Linked DNA regions of Homo sapiens: regions 1 and 3 are each linked to region 2. The links are contacts of gene promoters, found by promoter capture Hi-C in blood cells and fetal thymus (Javierre and others, 2016). All regions are on one chromosome and are shown on one strand. Each heading gives the region's core, a stretch centred on a gene start or on the middle of the fragment in contact. The rest is flanking DNA. Distances are from core to core; before and after follow the strand shown. Region 1 overlaps EIF3J (eukaryotic translation initiation factor 3 subunit J). Region 2 holds the start of AFG2B (AAA ATPase AFG2B). Region 3 overlaps SPG11 (SPG11 vesicle trafficking associated, spatacsin).

Evidence for each region. Contacts are between HindIII fragments. The CHiCAGO score rates a contact against its expected background, and 5 or more counts as called.
Region 1: a contact is called between a fragment that was not itself captured here and the fragment with the promoter of AFG2B in region 2, in 1 of 17 cell types (fetal thymus). The highest score is 5.0, in fetal thymus.
Region 3: a contact is called between a fragment that was not itself captured here and the fragment with the promoter of AFG2B in region 2, in 1 of 17 cell types (neutrophils). The highest score is 5.1, in neutrophils.

The regions. Positions count from the first base shown.
Region 1 is chr15:44,538,485-44,541,184 of GRCh38, forward strand. The region is part of intron 2 of EIF3J (eukaryotic translation initiation factor 3 subunit J); the gene reads left to right. Among named protein-coding and RNA genes, the nearest start is that of EIF3J, 2.7 kb to the left of the region's middle. The HindIII fragment of the contact is 4,412 bases long and covers 1-2,700 here.
Region 2 is chr15:45,401,007-45,403,706 of GRCh38, forward strand. AFG2B (AAA ATPase AFG2B) reads left to right here and starts at 1,330. Exons shown (of 8, transcript NM_024063.3): 1 at 1,330-2,512. The coding sequence starts at 1,424. It also overlaps a transcript of GATM not described here. RefSeq lists enhancers at 783-832, 843-912, 1,303-1,462 and silencers at 1,543-1,622, 2,013-2,162. The HindIII fragment of the contact is 3,246 bases long and covers 1-2,700 here.
Region 3 is chr15:44,652,267-44,654,966 of GRCh38, forward strand. All of the region lies in intron 4 of SPG11 (SPG11 vesicle trafficking associated, spatacsin), which reads right to left. Among named protein-coding and RNA genes, the nearest start is that of SPG11, 10 kb to the right of the region's middle. The HindIII fragment of the contact is 9,884 bases long and covers 1-2,700 here.

The sequences.
Region 1 (2,700 bases), core at 186-2,685, 860 kb before region 2:
ATCCTGCCTGGGCTGAAAAGTTTAAGCTAGATAATCACTATGAACTTAATAGGAATGTTGTTTTGAGTTTTTCTGTTCTCTCCCCAGTCCGATGAGGTTGGATGTGTGGATGTCCGATTTACTGACAGCCTGAGGTTCAAGAATGTTGTGAGCTTTGCACACATTGAAGTTAATAAATCGACTGGTTATTGTTTGAAGACACTCAGATGCTTTATTTACATGTTGTAGAAACATGGGACTAGATTTTGTTACCAGCCGCATTACAAGATATTAGTTACCCCTCTACATTGTAGCAGATTTTCAGTTTTGAGCCTTGGGTTCATATTGGTCCTTTCATTTTTTTCCATGCATATAGGAAGTGGCAGTTAAGACATCTGTTATGAAATTTGGGAATAAATTAACAAATGCAGAGAAAAGATTAGAGATATTAGGAAAGAAGTTGCAGAAAATGAAGTTTTAATGGATAGTCTAGACTAATGTCATGGAATAACTTCCTTGGGATTAAGGGATCTAAATGGTATCGATCTTGATGAATATAATTCTTTTTTTTTTTTTTTTTGAGATGGAGTTTCGCTCTTGTTGCCCAGGCTGGAGTGCAATGGCGCGATCTTGGCTCACTGCAACCTCCACCTCCTGGGTTCAAGTGATTCTCCTGCTTCAGCCTCCCAAGTAGCTGGGATTACAGGCACGCACCACCACGCCTGGCTAATTTTGTATTTTTAGTAGAGACGGGGTTTCGCCATGTTGCCCAGGCTGGTCTTGAACTTCTGACCTCAGGTGATTCTCCTGCCTTAGCCTCCCAAAGTGCTGGAATTATAGGCGTGAGCTACCGTACCCAGCCTCTGATGAATATAATTCTGATCACTTGGAACAAGTTTTGGATATTTACAAGTTGTAAGGGACCACAAAGATTATCTTGTCCAGTTGCTCTTTTTTTTTTGGAAATGGAGTCTCGCTCTGTCACCCAGGCTGGAGTGCAGTGGCACAATCTCCGCTCACTGCAAGCTCCGCCTCCCAGGTTCACTCCATTCTCCTGCCTCAGCCTCCCGAGGACTACAGGTGCCCACCACCACGCCCGGCTAATTTTTTCTATTTTTAGTAGAGACGGGGTTTCACCGTGTTAGCCAGGATGGTCTCAATCTCCTGACCTTGTGATCTGCCCGCCTTGGCCTCCCAAAGTGCTGGGATTACAGGCGTGAGCCACCACACCCGGCCCCAGTTGCTGTTTTAGTGCTAAATTTCTTTTTCTTTTTTTTTTTTTTTTTTAACTTAAAGCAATCTATCTATTCATCTAATTTTTTGAGAGAAGGTCTCACCCCGTTTCCCAGGCTGGAGTGCAGTGGCACGATCTCTGCAACCTCCGCCTCCCGGATTCAAGTGATTCTCCAGCCTCAGCCTTTCTAGTAGCTGGGATTACAGGTGTGCACCGCCGTGCCCAGCTAATTTACATATTTTTTTCTTTTTTTTTTTTTTGAGATAGAGTCTTGCTCTGTCACCCAGGCTGGAGTGCCGTGGCACGATCTTGGCTCACTGCAACCTCCGCCTCCCAGGTTCAAGCAGTTCTCTGCCTCAGCCTCCCGAGTAGCTGGGATTACAAGCGCCCACCACCACACCCAGCTAATTTTTGTATTTTTAGTAGAGACGGGGTTTCACCATCTTGGCCAGGCCGGTCTTGAACTCCTGACTTCGTGATCCACCCGCCTCGGCCTCCCAAAGTGCTGGGATTACAGACGTGAGCCACCGCGCCTGGCTATATATATATATATATATATATATATATATATTTTTTTTTTTTTTTTGTAGATACAGGGTTTCGCCATGTTACCTAGGCTGGTCTCAAACTCCTGAGGTCAAAGTGATCTTCCCGCCTCGGCCTCCCAGAGTGCTGGGATTACAGATGTGAGCCACTGCACCTGACCTATTTATTTTGAGACGGATTTGTGAGACTGGCTAATTTTTGTGTTTTTGGTAGAGGTGGAGTTTCGCCAAGTTGCCCAGGCTGGTCTCAAACTCCTGAGGTTAAAGCGATCTTCCCGCCTTGGCCTCCCAGAGTGCTGAGATTACAGGTGTGAGCCACTGCACCTGGCCTATTTATTTTGAGACAGATTTGTGAGACTGGCTAATTTTTGTGTTTTTGGTAGAGATAGAGTTTCGCCAAGTTGCCCAGGCTGGTCTCGAACTCTTGGAGTCAAGTGATCTATCCTCCTCAGCCTCCTAAAATGCTGGGATTATGGGCGTGAGCCAGCAGACTCAGCCATATCACCAAATTTCTGAATTCTTATGTTTTTGTACTTTTTATGAGGAGTTGCAGACAAGGCTTAGTTTCCGTGAGGTCTTCTGTTCATGTCAGCATCTAGTACTTAACCTTTAAAAATACAGGTTTAATGTCATTTGTAATGTCCTGGGAAATGAAAGGAAAACTGATGTTTTTGTTATTATAATTTGCTCCAGCACTTTACTCTCATTTAGTAGACTTAGTATTTTGCTGTCCTTGACTTTTCAAATAGCTGTCTGGCAGTGGCAGAAGTGGACTTAGGTGAAACTGTACAACCGTTAATATATATGGCAAGAAAAGACTATGCTTTTCCCCAGTTAAAAAGATGAGAACTCGGGAGCATAGTTTCCCATCACCCTGGCTTTATTTACCTTTTTTACTATCCTGATAGTTGTGCAGAGGTAGTGGGAAGAATTGTTCACTTG
Region 2 (2,700 bases), core at 80-2,579:
GTCCCCAAACCAAAAAGAACTGAAGCCAATGGGATTAAGAGGAAAAAAGAAAACAGGAAGTAATGGGTGACTTATCCATTTCAAGACCTCCTCCTGCTATTTTCTGATTCCTAAATTGTTCCAGAATCGATTTAAGCAGACAAGTACAGCTGAGACCAGGTAAGTTACTGTCAAGTCAAGAAGTCTGTCATGTCTGCCATGAAGTTTGGACAGAATGAGATCAGGAACTGGCATGGGTCTTAAGATCCCAGATCTGACAGTACTTCCCATTGATAAGATATTACTACACAGTCTGTAATTGATTATTTGCATAGATAGAAAAAAAAAACTTCCCAGCAACTTAAGCACTCTAAAATATCAGTTTTGTCAACTCACAAATTTGGGTTGCAGTGAAAGTGGGGAAAATAGAGGTAGGAAGATGTAAGTCAAATAAAAACAAGGTATATCTTCTTGTCTTTGAGTATCTGTAGTTCTTTTTTAACGGCAATTAAGAGGGATAGAAAATGTATTCCAGCTGATAAAAAGGAATTCCCTGTGCGAAAGGGAAAGGCAGAAAGCAGCTGGAAAAAAAAAATAGCAGGCAGTTGTCTTAATAACGTAGATAGGTATCGCCTCTAATACAGGACTTAGTACTGTTGTGCCCCAATTAGACAGTAAGCATTGATCGCATGAACTTTAGTGATTAACTTGTTGCCAAAGAATATTCAAAAGAATATCAGAAATCAGAACAAATGTACTGTTGGTGTGCTACAAATCCATCAGGTAGCCTAGTTTTCCTTCTTTCCTCTCTACAAGGGATTTTAAGCGCTACCGTGTGCTTCCCTCCCACTATGCTGGTACTTTCCCATAGGAAGGGTTGTGCCTGGACCTCCCAGATTGGAACCCCGATTACCGAAGGTCCCAAGGCTGTATTCTCAGTTACGCCAAGTCACCTGAGACATTTGCACCAGAGCACCCAAAATTCTGTGCCCATGCGGATAGTTAGAGTTTCTTCACAAAATAGCAAAGTCTCTAGGTTGCTATTCCAACGGCGGTAGTACTGATGCTCCAGTTCGAAGGCCAGGAAAACAGAATGTAAAGCCGGTGACTTCCAAGATATATGTAACCACCAAAGTACATGCTTAATGACCTAGTGAAGTGAGCTTAAGCCGCCTCCCAGACACCTGTAACGAAGACCATCTCGGGAAAGCTCTGGGTTAGGCAACTCGATTTCACGAAAGCGGACACCAACGCTCTACCCAGAGGCCCGAGCGTCGTCTAACGTTTCCATTGGCCCTTTCGGCCTTCACTCAGCTGCTAGCAACGCAGTCTGCCCTAGCGCATGCGCGCAATCTGCTTCCGGCCTGCGAGCTCGGTGTTCCGCTTTTTGTGGGCCGGGTGGGTTTCCTAATCTGGTTTCGTCTGCCTGGTTCATCTGTGTGCGATGGCTCCGGACTCGGATCCCTTCCCTGAAGGGCCGCTCTTAAAGCTGCTACCCTTAGACGCTAGAGACCGGGGCACCCAGCGCTGCCGCCTGGGCCCGGCCGCCCTCCACGCCCTGGGCGCGCGCTTGGGCTCGGCAGTGAAGATCTCGCTACCCGACGGCGGCTCCTGCCTCTGCACTGCCTGGCCTCGGCGGGACGGAGCGGACGGCTTTGTGCAGCTGGACCCGCTGTGCGCGAGCCCCGGGGCGGCGGTCGGGGCGTCGAGATCCCGGAGGAGTCTCAGCCTGAATCGCCTCCTCCTAGTGCCCTGTCCGCCCCTGCGGCGCGTCGCCGTGTGGCCGGTGTTGCGAGAGCGGGCAGGCGCGCCCGGTGCCCGGAATACAGCCGCGGTGCTGGAGGCGGCACAGGAGCTGCTGAGAAACCGACCGATCTCCCTGGGCCACGTGGTGGTCGCTCCGCCAGGCGCTCCTGGCCTGGTGGCTGCCTTGCACATCGTCGGCGGGACGCCCAGTCCCGATCCCGCTGGGCTGGTCACCCCTCGTACCCGCGTCAGCCTTGGCGGGGAGCCTCCGTCGGAAGCCCAGCCGCAGCCCGAGGTGCCCCTGGGAGGTCTTTCGGAGGCGGCCGACTCGCTGCGGGAGCTCCTCCGCCTCCCGCTCCGCTACCCGCGCGCCCTGACCGCGCTGGGCTTAGCGGTGCCTCGCGGGGTGCTCCTGGCGGGGCCCCCCGGAGTGGGCAAGACCCAGCTGGTGCGGGCCGTGGCGCGCGAGGCGGGCGCGGAGCTGCTGGCAGTCAGCGCCCCGGCGCTGCAGGGTTCCCGGCCTGGGGAGACCGAGGAGAACGTGCGGCGGGTCTTCCAGCGCGCCCGGGAACTGGCCAGCCGCGGACCCAGCCTCCTCTTCCTGGACGAGATGGACGCCTTGTGTCCCCAGCGGGGCAGTCGAGCACCCGAGAGCCGCGTAGTGGCCCAGGTGTTGACGCTGCTGGACGGCGCCAGTGGGGACCGCGAGGTCGTGGTTGTGGGAGCCACTAACCGGCCGGACGCTCTAGACCCAGCGCTGCGTAGGCCCGGGAGATTTGACCGAGAGGTGAATGGGCTTGGCGGGTTTGCCCACTGTCGGTGGAACCTCGGCCGCTTCTGGCGCCATTTGGCTGCCCCGGAGGCGTTTGCCTCTTAGGTTTGAGCATCGGTGAGGTTGGAGTTGGGGCTCTTTGCAATGCAGAGAACACGTTCTCTGCCGATATATGATCTGTGAGTCAGGACCTGTATTTCCCC
Region 3 (2,700 bases), core at 1-2,500, 750 kb before region 2:
CTACATTTAAAAATAATGATAGACATATGAAAAAATGATGATCAAACCCAAATTTGTGTTACTACTGCTCCTGTTAAAAATAAGAGATTACAGAGAAGGAATAGTACAACAAATTCCGCAGAAAGGAACTCCTTATCTCCCTTGCTTATGTCACAGTAATAGAGTGAACTCTAAGAATTTTACTCTATTAAGGGCAGTTAGCTTGATAAAGCAGTAAGAACACTTACTGTCTACTATATTTCAGATGTTATGCTAAACACTTCACACAAACTCTTATTTAAGCCTCTAACAACCCTGTGAGGTAAATATAACCCCATCTTATAGAAATGGAAACTAAGGTTCAGAAACACTTTGAAACAGACTAATGTGACTATCAAGTCTAGCTTTTTTTCTTTTTTTTTTTTTTGAGACAGAGTCTCACTCTGTCACCCAGGCTGGAGTGCAGTGGCGCAATCTCAGCTCACTGCAACCTCTGCCTCCTGGGTTCAAGCGATTCTCCTGTCTTAGCCTCCCGAGTAGCTGGGACTGCAGGTGCATGCCACCATGCCTGGCTAATTTCTGTATTTTTAGTAGAGACAGGGTTTTACTATATATTGGCCAAGCTGGTCTCAAACTCCTGACTTCCAGTGATGTGCCTGCCTCGGCCTCCAGTCCAGATTTTAAAATCACTCATTATACTGCCACCACAAAGTAAGATTTAGGCTGCGACCAGAGGAATGCATAAGAACTAGAAGGTAAAGTATGTATGTGGGTATAGGTGGGAGAGTATATGTGGAAAAGGGGGCTGTTACATTTGAGAAACAAAGAAGGCTAGGGTGGCTAATGTACAGAAAATGAGAAGTAAGATGGAATGGGATGAGGCTAGAAAGATGGTTCAGGGCCCCATAGGCTATTAAGAATTTTAAACTTTTATCTGAGGGGGAAAAGGAACCTGAAGAAGGCTTTTAAGCAGAAAAGCAATATGAACAGATGCAGCAGAGTAGCTAGGGGAAGAAGGGGAAGGATTTTATCTCTTTGAACACTTACATTATTAAATATTAATCCTTTAAACAACTTGAAGGTAATTTGTTGACACAACCATATGACACTGTCCCAGGATGATGATGAAAAGAAGTTAGAGAAGGTAGGGCGAAAATGAGAAGATGCATGAGAAAATAGTTCCCCCATCAACAAAATAAAAGGTAGATACCCCTGCCCCAGATGTTAATGACTGGCTACACCTCTGATAAAATATGCATTTTAACAACATCACTCTTAGCTACTCTATTGTGGATGGATTTGAGGGGGTAATAGGCATGAGGAGATCAAGTAGGAGACTATTAAAATAGTTCAGTTAAGAGATAATGGTGGCATAGAGTGACGACAGAAGAGTTGAGAAAAGTGGACAAAGAAACATTTAGGAGACAGAAAGGGTAGGACCTGATGATTAACTGGATGTGGATCTAATACCAAAAAGAAGTTGGAGATACAGTAGTTCCCTCTTATCCACAGTGGATACATTCAAGACACACAGTAGGTACCTGAAACTGCAGATAGTACCAAACCCTATACATACAGTTGACCCTTGAATATCACAGGTTTGAACTCCATGGGTCCACTTATATGATTTTTTTTTTCCAAAAATACATTGGAAAAATTTGTAAAGATTTGCAACAATTTGTTTAAACTCACAAATGAACCATGTAGCCTAGAAATATATTTTTTTCAGACAGGGTCTTGCTCTGTTGCCCAGGCTGGAGTGCAGTGGTGCAATGACAGCTCACTGTAGCCTTGATCTCCTGGACTCAAGCAATCCTCCTGCCTCAGCCTCCGGAGTAGCTGAGACCACAGGCATGTACTACCATGCCCAGTTTAGCCTAGAAATATTTTTTAAAATAAAGATTAAGTCAGGTATGTCATGAATGCATAAAAGTTACATAGTTACTACTCTATCATTTTCTACCATAAATTATGCACAAATTGGCTGGGCACAGTGGCTCATGTCTGTAATCCCAGCACTTTGGGAGGCTGAGGCAGGTGGATCACTTGAGGTCAGGCGTTCAAGACCAGCCCGGCCAACATGGCGAAACCGTTTCTACTGAAAATACAAAAATTAGCTGGGCGTGGTGGCACATGCCTATAATCCCAGCTACTTGGGAGGCTGAGACACGAGAATCACTTGATCCCAGGAGGCGGACCTTGCAGTGGGCCGAGACTGCACCACTGCACTCCAACCTTGGCAATAGAGCAAGACTCCATCTCAAAATTAAAAAAAAAGAAACCCACAAACTTATTATAAAAAGTTAAGATTGGCTGGGCGCGGTGGCTCACGCCTGTAATCCCAGCATTTTTGGGAGGCCAAGGTGGGCGGATCATCTGAGGTCATAAGTTCAAAACCAGCCTGGCCAACACGGTGAAACCCCATTTCTACTAAAAATACAAAAAATTAGCCAGGCGTGGGTGGTGGGTAATCCCAGCTACTCAGGATGCTGAGACAGGAGAATCGCTTGAACCCAGGAGGCGGAGGGTGCAGTGAGCTGAGATTGCACCATTGCGCTCCATCCCGGACAACAAGAGCGAAACTCCATCTCAAAAAAGAAAAAAAAAAAGTTAACATTTATCAGAACCTATGTAATGTACACACTTACGGACTGTACATGATACCATTCGAAGCCAAAGAAAATGTAAACGAATGTCAAGATGCAGTATTAAATAACTGCA